Regions from separate parts of the Homo sapiens genome. Here region 1 is linked to region 2. Evidence: promoter capture Hi-C in human tissues and cell types (Jung and others, 2019). All regions are on one chromosome and are shown on one strand. The core of a region is centred on a gene start or on the middle of the fragment in contact, and the rest is flanking DNA. Distances in the headings are between cores, read along the strand shown.

Region 1 (5,751 bases), core at 322-2,821, 710 kb after region 2:
TTACATAAACTTTGGAATTTTTGTTTTTTAAAAATTAGTCATACAACATAGCAGTTATGCCTGAAAGCCCTCTATTAAGGAAATAATGATTTGAGAAAAAAATGCTCAGGAGTTGTCAACAATACGAAAGCTTATTTTAGAAGGCTCATTTTCACTTGCACTTAATGCTGGGATTTAAATGACTTAGAGGGAAGAACTAGGTGAGGCCAGTATGATTTAGTGTCAGTGAGTATGTTAAACACTTTTGTGCAGGCATGAAAGTAAAATTCAAATCTCTTCCTTCAGAAAAGACTTCCCAGTTTGCTTGTCCCCAGCAGCTATCCTTCTTCTTTTAATAAGTGGATGAGTGGGGAGGAAAAGCAGCCCAGTCTTTAAGACTGGAGGCAGATATCCATGTTGTTGGAGCCTAAAGGGCAACCACAATGTTTGCAAATGAAAGCTGACATTGCCTTTTGACATGCAGGCCTGTCCATCCTCAGCTACTTATCAGGGTCAAGTTGACTTTAAATATCCTTGAGAGGGACCATGAGAAGTCAGTGTAGCCTTGCTGGATCATGGTTATTCAACCAGCTATTTCCATGGCTATAATGGAGAGGCTTGGGAGCCCAGATAAATCCCAGTTTCCTTTTCTGGGCCTCAAAGGCAAGCGCCAGACTTTATCTATGGGGACATTCTGCAACCCAAAACAGTCAGAACCCTTCTCAAAATCCTCTGGCGAAGTACCCACCTATCATCAAGCTGCTGTTGTTGGCTCTGAAGTGGTAAAGCAAATATCCACTTATATAATAAAGAGGGGAAGAGCAGAGGGAGATAAATCTCCAATTTCCAGATGTAAATGGTATCTATACATATTCACCTGTGAAAGATTAGGAAATGGAAACATTAGCTTATTTGATTTTCTTGCATCTAGTAATAAGTATTCAGTGATCTTGTGTGCCAAGCACTATCTGAAGTACCTTACATACATTTATTCATTTAATCTGTGAAGCAACTTCATGAAGTAGAAACCATTTTCATTATTTTACAGTTGAAAGGAGGCTTAGGGAAGTTATATAACTTGTCCAAGGTCACACAGTTTAAGTAGCACAGTTATGATTTGAACTCAGTGTATCAGACTCTCAAGCCTTCCATATAGCTTCCCAAAAGCAGATTACAAGAACCAGGCAAGGCACAGAATTTCACAGTAAAGCTTGTCCCTGAACATATGACCTTCAGATTAATAGTGGGACATGTAAATCATTATAGCCACAGAGAAACTTTAAAAGGAAAACAAAAAATACAAAATTAACCCTGATTTATTGGTGGCTAAGGACAGTTAGTTGCCCATGTATATTTGTGAAATGACTTATACAGGAGGCAATGCTACCATGATCTGTAAATTCTTAGATATGAACAAATATAGAATCATTTTGAATACAATAAAAATCTTTGTATTTCTAGCATCTTATAAATTACCAATGGCTTTTACATATCTTATCTCTTTTAATCCCCACAACAGCCCTGTGAGCCAGTCATTCTTGGCCTCATGTTATAGATGACAATTTTGAAGCTTAAAGAGGTTAAGTGACATACCCAAGATCACACAACTAGCAAAGCTGAGGCTCAGACTCAGGCTTTTTGACTCAAATGTGGCTTGTCTTTTACCAAACCACTTACCTCTCTACTGGGTTGTTTGGCTTTTCTCCAAAGCCAGGTAGAAGTTTTTCACATTGAGGTTTTTCAGAAATTCTTACTTAGATATTTCATCTTTCTGTAAAAGGCAGATTTATTGGCCCACAAATTTGGGGAGCCATATTCATTTTTATATTTGGCATAGCTTATGCCCAGGTCCTCTCCATAAGGGTGTACTTTTATCGAGTTAGAATTGTTGAGTTAGATTTAGATGTGTATATAGAATGTTCAAAGTAGCTTCCCACAGTCCGGTTTTCTCTTGGGGGTGAGGAGTTCCAGGCCTCCGAAGCCAAACCGTTCAGAATTGGTAGCCAAATACACCATTGACTGCAGCAGAGCAATGCAATTGCTGAACATTCCCCTTATACAAGATCAGTTTTGAATAAATGCATGGAAACACGATAAGCTAAGAGGCTCAATTTATCTTTGCTTATTAGTAGCTCTAGCCAGCATATGACCCGTAGTCTCTATGAACAACTCTTCTGATGGATTTTATATGCCTTGTGTGATGTGAAAGATGAGTAAACAAACCCTTTATTGGAAATACATGAGGTTTTGTGGGGGGAAGTAGGAAAGAATGTGTCAAATTGTGATAAGTGATACTGTGTAGAGTATTTCTGATTGAACATCCAGTAACTAACCTTTTAAGCTTCCGGTTTTTTGTTGGTAGCAGGCAGGAGAAAATAACCAGAGGAATGTGGATTGCTTGCAGCTAACCGGGACCTGTTCATCTGGTTAGTTTCTTTTCTCCCATGCTCTTGAGGAAAGGTATTACTCTTGGATTCCAGTTGGCCAAGAGGAAGGTTCAAGCTTTTTTTTTTTTTTTTTTTGAGATGGAGTTTTGCTCTTGTTGCCCAGGCTGCCGTGCAGTGGCTCAAACCAGCGAAGGCTCACTACAACCTCCGCCTCACAGGTTCAAGCGATTCTCCTGCCTCCTGAGTAGCTGGGATTACAGGTGCACACCACCATGCCCGGCTAATTTTTTTGTATTTTTAATAGAGACGGGGTTTCACCATGTTGGCTAGGCTGGTCTCGAACTCCTGACCTCAGGTGATCTGCTCGCCTTGGCCTCTCAAAGTGCTGGGATTACAGACGTGAGCCACCGTGCCTGGCCGAAGGTTCAAGCTTTTAAATCCAAATAGAATCTAGTGATTAGATTGATGCAGAAATTTAAACTGTACTTGGGCATCACTTGCTTCCATTGGCTCACCAGTGATTGTAGCTGATACAGTTATGTGACAAAAGATTCATTCATTTAGCAAACAAATCAGAGGTGCTTATTGTGTGTCAGGCACCAGACATTGATTTTTCTTTTTAGACATTGATTTTATATTAACTATTAGTTTCCATGTTACTTTACCTTGAATTGGGTCAGTAGATGAGAAATTTTCCTGGGGAGACACACTCTTCAGAAAAGGTCTAATTTAGGGAGGTGTTTTGAATAAGATTAATTTCCCAAATTTCAACAAAACTTTGTCCAAGAACATCATACAAAGTGTCTACCCTACGCTTTTATTCCAATCATCAAATCCTTTAGAGAGATTCCAAGGATTATGTTTCACTGAGACTGATTTTATTTGCTAATGCCAATTTTGGGATTCAATCAGTTTAAATTAGAAATCTGGAAGGGCCCTTCAGGATTGGAGACTAGATTGGTTTCTAGCTAGACACTCCCACCTTTGCAGTTTCAGGGTAAACTTTCTTTCCCAAGAAATAAAAGCATGTATTAAGAATGCTGCTTCTGCCAAGACTCTGTGTAGACCCAGCCACCATTGCCAGATAGTCTGAAAAAGTATAAAAAAATTAGCCGCCCCTCAGTGTGTGGTCATGAAGCAGGGCCAGGGGCACTCTTTAGGTATACAGCATAAAGTATGTCATAGATAGTAAATACTGGAGTTTAGAATCCATTTGTAAAGAACTGTCAGCTTGAGTGTATTAAGGCACAAAAGCAACTTCTGAAACACAGGCTTGATATTTGTTGCTGGGGCTCTGAATCATTTTGGAGTACCAGGACACTTAGCAATAGGTGGGATTATTTTTTCAGGGAAAATAATGGTGTTCCATTCTTAGGGTCATAGATGACTAGAAAAAGAAAGGTCCAAGGCTTAGAAGAAAGATCAGCTATAGATTGGAAATAAGCTGAAAGCCAGATATCCCTCTCACAGATTGGCACAGCTCCATGTAGAAGGTCTGCCCAGTGTGTTGAGGTGGGGCGAGAAGTTGGCATTGCTGACATTGCGCTTCTCCTTGCTGTAATTTCAGACCCGGATGCAGAGTCTACAGCCTGACCCAGCTGCCCGCTATCGCAATGTGTTGGAGGCCCTCTGGAGGATTATAAGAACGGAGGGCCTATGGAGGCCCATGAGGGGGCTGAACGTCACAGCAACAGGCGCAGGGCCTGCCCACGCCCTTTATTTTGCCTGCTACGAAAAGTTAAAAAAGACATTGAGTGATGTAATCCACCCTGGGGGCAATAGCCATATTGCCAATGGTATTGAGCCTTCCTGTGCTGGTTCCCCCACTTTCCCAACTCTTTGGGCTTTGCTGCTGTCAGTGCTTTCCAGTCTCAGCATGGTTTGGAGCTGAAGCTTTGGGCTGGGATAGGCCAGATTATAAGGGAGGGACTTCCAAACCTGATGTTCTCAGACAACGGGCCGCTTCAACCCTGCCTTTTCCTTTGGGGCACCTCAACAAAGGGTTACAGTATCCTCCCTTACCTACCAGCTTGACTTGTTCCTCTCATCTCCCTGGCATCAACTTCTAATGCCCTGGTAATGTGGAGACACACTGAACTACCCCCAGTCTATGTTTGACAGTTGGGTGGTGTCCTGCTCCTTAGGGCAGGATTGGAGGCGACCCAGCCAGCCACCCAAGGAAGATACTAATGAAGCCCCTGCTTTTTGCCTCACCTTTTCAGGATCCCAACTCACCAGAGGCAGTTTGTGTTGAGAACATGACAAAGCCTCATGACAAAATGAATGGGGGTGGGGCCAAGGAACTGCATGAAGAAACCAGAAGGTTGTGTGGAAGTAAGAGAAAGGATAGCAGCCTAGGGCTTTAGGACCGGCTGGAAACCAAGTTGAGTGTGGAGAGGATGAGGGGTAGAGTAGTTCAGGACCTGAACGAAAGATCTTTGTAGACAAATGTTAGGCTCTGCAAATGGGTTCTGCGGCAGGACTGAGGTGGGATTCTGTGGTGAGGTTCTGTGAGATCTGACCACCTGGCCCCCGTATCTCCCTCCACTGGTGGCAGGTGATGTGCTGGCATCCCTAGGCAGCAGTGTATCTGCTTCCTGTCTGGGGTGTGAGCTGCATTTATTCTCAGAATGATCTTTATTGATAAGACTTGAGCTGGCCTTCCTATCATGGATGTGGAATACATTAGTGACCTTACAAAGTTGGTGGGAACAGATACTTTACCTTCTTAAACAGGAGTTTAGGAGCAGTGGGTCCCCATCTTTTGGACTAGCTCTTAACGTTACTTTTCCCCGCTGTAGTGTAGCACAGCCACTCCCCTTCACTGGGGGACCTCAATGAGTTGGTCAGCTCTCTTGGCCTTACATGTGGCAGTTGTTTTCTTGTTTGCAGGTGCGGCCGGGTGTGTGGCAACATTACTTCATGATGCAGCCATGAACCCTGCGGAAGGTAATGATTCCTCAACCTATCACTCTGTGGGCAGCTGCACCTGTATTTCTTTACAGTTTGCAGAAGAAAGCACATCAGTTTTGGTGGGAAATTCTGTTACCTTGTTTTACCACTAGAGGGTGCTCCCTCCATGTTTTTGGTACCTAACGAGGCACCCTCTTGGACAGGAAGCAGATTCACTGGGATTTTACTAATCCCTGGGGCTTCCCTAGAAAAAGATGTCTCCATGTGGCCTGTTTTTGGGCTTTCCTGGGAGCCTCCTTTGTCGTAGATTTGATCTGTCCTGAAAGTTTAGCAGATTCATTTTTCTTCAAAGAGGTGAAGATGGATTCTGACTTTTTTTTTCCCCCTTATGATTTGCAGGAATTGACACTTAAATATATTGCCTTTCTTATTGGAATGAAGCTAGTTGGGATAGGAATGAAAGGTTAAATCA
Region 2 (5,846 bases), core at 1,096-3,595:
TGATCAAATCAGGTGAATTAGCATATTCATTACTTCAAATATTTATCATTTCTTTGTAGTAAGAACTTTTTAAATCCTCTCTGTTAGCTATTTTGAAGTACACAGTACCTCATTATCAACTGTAGTCACCACACTGTGCAACAGAACAACAGAACATATTTCTCTTGCCTGATTGAAAGCTTTTATCCATCGACCACTCTCTTCCCCTCTCACACACCCCTCACCCCCAGCCTCTGGTAACCACCATTCTACTCTCTACTTCTACGAGTTCAATTTTTTTAGTTTCCACATATAAGTGAGAGCATAGGGCATCTGTCTCATTATGCCTGGCTTATTTCACTTAACATAATGTTCTCTAGGTTTATCTATGTTGTCGTAAATGACAGAATTTTCTGTGTTTTTTTTTTCAAGGCTGAATATATTATATTGTGCATATATACCACATCTTTTAAATCCTTTCGTCAGTTGATGGATACTTAGATTGTTTCCATATCTTGGCTATTATTAATAATCCTGCAATGAACATGGGAGAGGAGACATCTATTCAACACACTGATTTCAATTCCTTTGAGATTCTTGGAACATATGGTAATTCTATTTTTAGTTTTTTGAGGAACCTCCATACTGTTTTCCAAGATGTCCGTACTAATTTACAATACAGCCAAGCATACAAGGGGCCCCTTTTCTCCACAGCCTTGCCAACACTTGTTATCTTTCTTTCTTTCTTTTTTCTTGAGACAGGGTCTTGCTCTGTTGCTCAGGCTGGAGTGCAGTGGTGTGATTTCAGCTGACTGCAGCCTCAACGCCTCAGCCTCCCCAGCTCAAGTGGTTCTCCCACCCCAGCCACCTGAGTAGCAGCTGGGACTACATGCACGCACCCCATGCCTGGCTAATTTTTGTTGTTTTGTTGTTGTTTTGTAGAGGCGGTGTTTCACCATGTTGCCCGGGCTGGTCTTGAACTCCTGAGCTCAAGTGATCCTCCTGCCCTGGCCTCCCAAAGTGCTGGAATTACAGGTGTGGGCAACCACACCCAGCCAAGATCTCTTTATAGGGACACTCAAGACTGATTATTTTGACAAGGCTGATGTTTTGCTGAATGTGAAGGTGGGCTTCAGGCCAGTGAGTAGCCCTGGGTGGGGAGCCAGGAGTTAGGAGAGGAAAGTCTCTGCTCTAGCCTCAAGGAGGAGAAACTGCAGGGTGACCACCACAACCTGTGGGATCAGCCCCATTCTGGGGCATCATGCATGCCTATAGGGGAGCTGGAGCAGGTGATCAGAAGCTGGAGCAGGGCATAGGCAGGGATGTGCTTGGGGGCCCATGACACAGTTTTAATTCAGAGACCTGCAGTTATAAAGAAAGCAGATTAATCCTGATATCATGGATAGTTCCACTTTGTGCTCAAGTTTACGATTCTAGGCCCAGGACTAAGCAGAGCCATGGGAAAAGGTTCCCAGCTCAGCTGGGTCCAGATATCCACTCCCCTTTAGTCCCACATCATACTGTCCTTGTCCTTTGTTCTCCGATCCAGCCTCCCAACCAGGTCTTAGCCTTTTTCCCATACTGAGCCCCACACCCTTAAGGAACCCCCTCTCTTGGTGTATCTCACCTGTAAGCCATGGAAAGGCAAGCTTCAGAACAAGGAATATAGACAACCTAGGACTCTGTGGTCCTCTCCCCTGCCCCCTCAGTGCCCTGAAGTATGTGAGACTGGGGTTCCTCCTGCCACTGTCCTTTCCCCACGGCTGAGAGGGTGAAGTGAGGGAAGGGAGCTGCCCATCTCTGCTCCACCAGGGGACAGCTGAAGGTGAGACAGGACAGGAGCCTCAGACCCATTGACTGAACCTGGGAGGTGGGCAGAGCCTGGGAGGGGGACAGCGCTCTTCAGCTTTCCTCCCAGCCTTGGTCCCCACCCCAATCCATGTCGGCCCTTTTAGGAGCTTTTAGTGGAAATGAGCTCAGACCCGCAGCACAGGCCCCCGGCTCCCCTCCTGTCTCAGCTCCTCCCATTGCTCTTTGATCGTCTCTTCTGTCCGACCTCTGGGCCATCTCTCCACCAGGCACATCTGCGAGCAGCCCCCTTCATCCCCAGCATCGCCTTTTCCTCCCGTTTCTCCTTCCACTCCCAGCTCCACATCCTCCTCCTATTCTCCCCTCTCCCCTCTTCAAACCCCCACCTTCCAGTTCCCTCACCTCCCCTTTCGGCTGGTCCCCTGGGGCTTGCAGCAAGAGGGAGAGAGAGCTCCTGACAGGATTGATGGTCCTTCCCCACCCTGTCCTCTCATCCGCTCCCTCCCCAGCAGGCACAGACATCCCCCTACAAAAGGCAGGAGCCCAGGCTGTGTGGAAACAGCTGCTCTCAGACGCCTTTCCATTTGCTCTCTGCTGGCTAGGCTGGGCTGTGCCTCTGCTCCCTCTTCCTCTAGCTGAGAGTGGGCACCTGGGGTACCGGGCCCCCCCACCTCATTCCCCATGAATGCTGTGGGAAGTCCTGAGGGGCAGGAGCTGCAAAAGCTGGGGAGTGGAGCCTGGGACAACCCCGCCTACAGTGGTCCCCCTTCCCCACACGGGACGCTGAGAGTCTGCACCATCTCCAGCACGGGGCCTCTCCAGCCCCAACCCAAGAAGCCTGAAGATGAACCCCAGGAGACGGCATACAGGACCCAGGTGTCCAGCTGCTGCCTCCATATCTGTCAAGGCATCAGAGGTACCAGATAGGGGGACAGTTCTCCTGGGATATTAGAATCAGGAGGAGTCACCAAAAGCTTTTGGGCAGGGGGTGGGGGTGGAATGTGATCTGAAGAAGAGGTGACCTTTCGGTGTCACTTTGGGGTGTATGAATTGCCCATGGTAGTGCTGCATGACCCAGAACACAGAGGCCAGCTGAGCGGTCTACCGGTTGTGGGAGCCTGGCATGGTCATCACCTGGGGATCCAGAGAGGTATGTGGGAGCTGGTTTGAGGGAGGACATGGATGTGATGATGCCCTAGACTACCCCACCTGGAACAGGTGCCTCCTTTCCATGCCTTCATTCTCTACAAGCCAGGGCCTTCACCCCTGTCGACCTCAGGGAGCTGATGGGAAGAGCAAGCATGGGTGTGGGTACAGTAGCCAGATTCAGCCAAGGATGAAGGTGATGGGCAAGGAAGGGCAGGGGTGGAAAGGGGCTAAAGTCCAGAGACAGATGGGTGGGGATGACTGGGAGGAACACTGCCACTGAGCATCCCAGGCATCTCTCCCATGCCCCTTAGGACTTTGGGGAACAACCCTGACTGAGAACACAGCTGAGAACCGGGAACTTTATATCAAGACCACCCTGAGGGAGCTGTTGGTATATATTGTGTTCCTGGTGGACATCTGTCTACGTGAGTAGCATCTGTGTTTGTGTACATCTGTCTGTGAGAAACATCTATGTGTGCACTATATGTATAAACATTCCTGTGGGCAACATCTGTGGAGCGAGCATCTATCTGTGTAAGCAGGCTATATCCGGGAACTTTAGATAACAATATTCCAATCCCATCTATTTACCTTTGCAGCTTAAGATATTTTGTTTAAAAGGAATTTGTCAGTAGAGGAAGGCAGTTTGGTCAAGAATTACAAGGGGAAACCAGTTTTTGGCAGCCATTGTTTTCTATTGGCTGAAAAGGTGAAAGGTGAAAATATTTTACCCTTCTGTAGAGAGTGGGCTGGCACGGTGGCTCACGCCTGTAATCCCAGCACTTTGGGAGGCCGAAGTGGGCACATCACCTGAGGTCAGGAGTTTTGAGACCAGCTTGGCCAACATGGCGAAACCCTGTCTCTACTAAAAATACAAAAATTAGCTGGGTGGCAGGTGCCTGTAATCCCAGCTACTCAGGAGGCTGAGGCAGGAGAATCGCTTAAACCCAGGAGCAGAGGTTGCAGTGAGCCAAGATCGTGCCACTACACTCCAGCCTGGGGGACAGAGCAAGACTCTGTCTCTCTGTCTCCAAAAAAAAAAAAGAGTGGAAAACCACTCCCTTCTGTTTGGAAAGATAGTTTGGTGGGCTTCACGTAGTTATTATACTATATCCGATGCATGTTTCTTTAGAGGCAGAGAAAAAGATGGAAGAAAAAAGAGAGGAAGTAAAAGATCCAGGCGACCTTAGATCTCAGATCCCTGTTAAGAGAGGGAGGGAAACACATGGTATGGTGATGGTCCCATGTGAGAGACCACCATGTCACATGCCATTGGAGGAAGCTTATTGAGGCTCTAGCTATAGACACAAACTGAGAAATTTTGATCTCTAAGTTGAGAGAAGCAAGTGAAAAGATAGGAGGGCGACTGTGGGAAGATAGAGTCAAAGAACCGTAAATAATAATAAAATTGGACCAAACAGATGCTATTAGACTTGTAGGTAATGACAGCAACTTTGTATTTGGTTTATTACTTCTTTCAAAAGTTGCACAAGTGATGTTTGCCTAGTTTAATATAGTTGTGTGTGGGGTTGTGTTTTGATTAAAGCTGTAGGTTGAATCGTACAACTAAGATGCCCTCATTAGTAGGTGTTCTAGGCTCCGCAATACTCTGTTCTTGTCAGGGTGCATAAATCTTTTGAAAGTGGAGTCAAAGAGTCTCATAACATTAATGTTGATGAAATGTTGTCTTATTTTTTGAGCCACCCACATTTGTGCAAGCCCTCTAGGAAAGCTGGCAGAAAGCACTTTGTTCTGGCTGTGCTCTATCGGAACTCATTCCATGCTGGACAGAGGGGACAGTCCTCTGTGTTTGTCACTGGCCACTCTGCAGGGAGTGAAAGGACACAGTGCATGTGAGGAACAACGGCCGGCCCAATGTACATATTGTGGGGCCCTTTCAATTCCTTTCAGCAAATGGCTGTCAGAAATTCATTTGTTGACGTATCGATTATTTTTGTCCTAACCATCTGCTAGCAAGGAGAAGTCATCTCCTTTTTCAGATCCCGTGACAGCAGCTGAAACCCACAGGCAGAGCCTTTCTCTATAAATGACTTAAACGTCTCTCTTTCCAGATTAGCCTCTGGAACAGGACTGTTTCTAGCTCCCCAGAGTTACAGTGAACCATTTCTAACTCCATTGTATGGAGCTGGAAAGGGTGGAAGCTTGGGTTCTGGAAGTCCAGGAGTCCAATCCACTCATGTTCTCTGCTTTCTAAGATCTCAGTGCACTGATGCATTGCCAGATGGTCTGTGACTTGCCAAAATCTGAGTCACAGGCTTCGTTCAGTAATTACAGAGTCCTTGAGCAGACAGGGGTTTAGAGCTCATCTAATTTTAGGATGCAGAATACGTGGAATCCTTTCTCTGTGATCCTTCCCATGGTGCTCTGTCAGGTGGCCAACCAGCCCAACCTGGGGAGTGTCAGCGGGGCTGTCACTGTTTCATGAGGCAACCCATTCTACTATTGGGCAGCTCTGTTTCCTTCCTCTTATGGAGCCACCTCCTCTGAGCCAGACGTTGGACTGAGAAACACATAGATAACAGACACTTGGGCCTTTCCCCTCAGAGGCTCACTTCCTTTTCAGAACTTTCTTCTATTAAGCCAACTACTGAGGTGTTCCTGTTACTCTCTGAAGTGACAACCTTTCAACTGTTTGAATGAATATAGCTTGCCCTTGGTCATCTGTTCTCTAGGTTAAATAACTTCTATTTTATCATGGTACTTTTCTTAAACTAGTCATTCATAATACTATGGTTTTCAGAGATGGTATTATGTAGGGATTGAAGGCATGGGCTCCAAATTTGCACAGGTTTGGGTCAAACACTGTGCACTGCCATTCACCATCTGAGGGCCCTCAAGCAATTTGCTTAACTTCTTTGAATTTCAGTTTCCTCATCGTACTTACCCAA

Evidence for each region. Contacts are between HindIII fragments. The study calls those that stand out against the background at their distance.
Region 1: a contact is called between a fragment that was not itself captured here and the fragment with the promoter of PKD2L1 in region 2, in 1 of the 25 tissues and cell types used here (dorsolateral prefrontal cortex).

What each region holds. Positions count from the first base shown.
Region 1 is chr10:99,612,107-99,617,857 of GRCh38, reverse strand. It overlaps SLC25A28 (solute carrier family 25 member 28), which reads left to right. Exons shown (of 4, transcript NM_031212.4): 2 at 3,934-4,162; 3 at 5,259-5,315. Among named protein-coding and RNA genes, the nearest start is that of SLC25A28, 5.5 kb to the left of the region's middle. The HindIII fragment of the contact is 3,914 bases long and covers 1-3,528 here.
Region 2 is chr10:100,326,727-100,332,572 of GRCh38, reverse strand. PKD2L1 (polycystin 2 like 1, transient receptor potential cation channel) reads left to right here and starts at 2,345. Exons shown (of 16, transcript NM_016112.3): 1 at 2,345-2,704; 2 at 3,249-3,362. The coding sequence starts at 2,470. RefSeq lists an enhancer at 5,207-5,326. The HindIII fragment of the contact is 2,587 bases long and covers 905-3,491 here.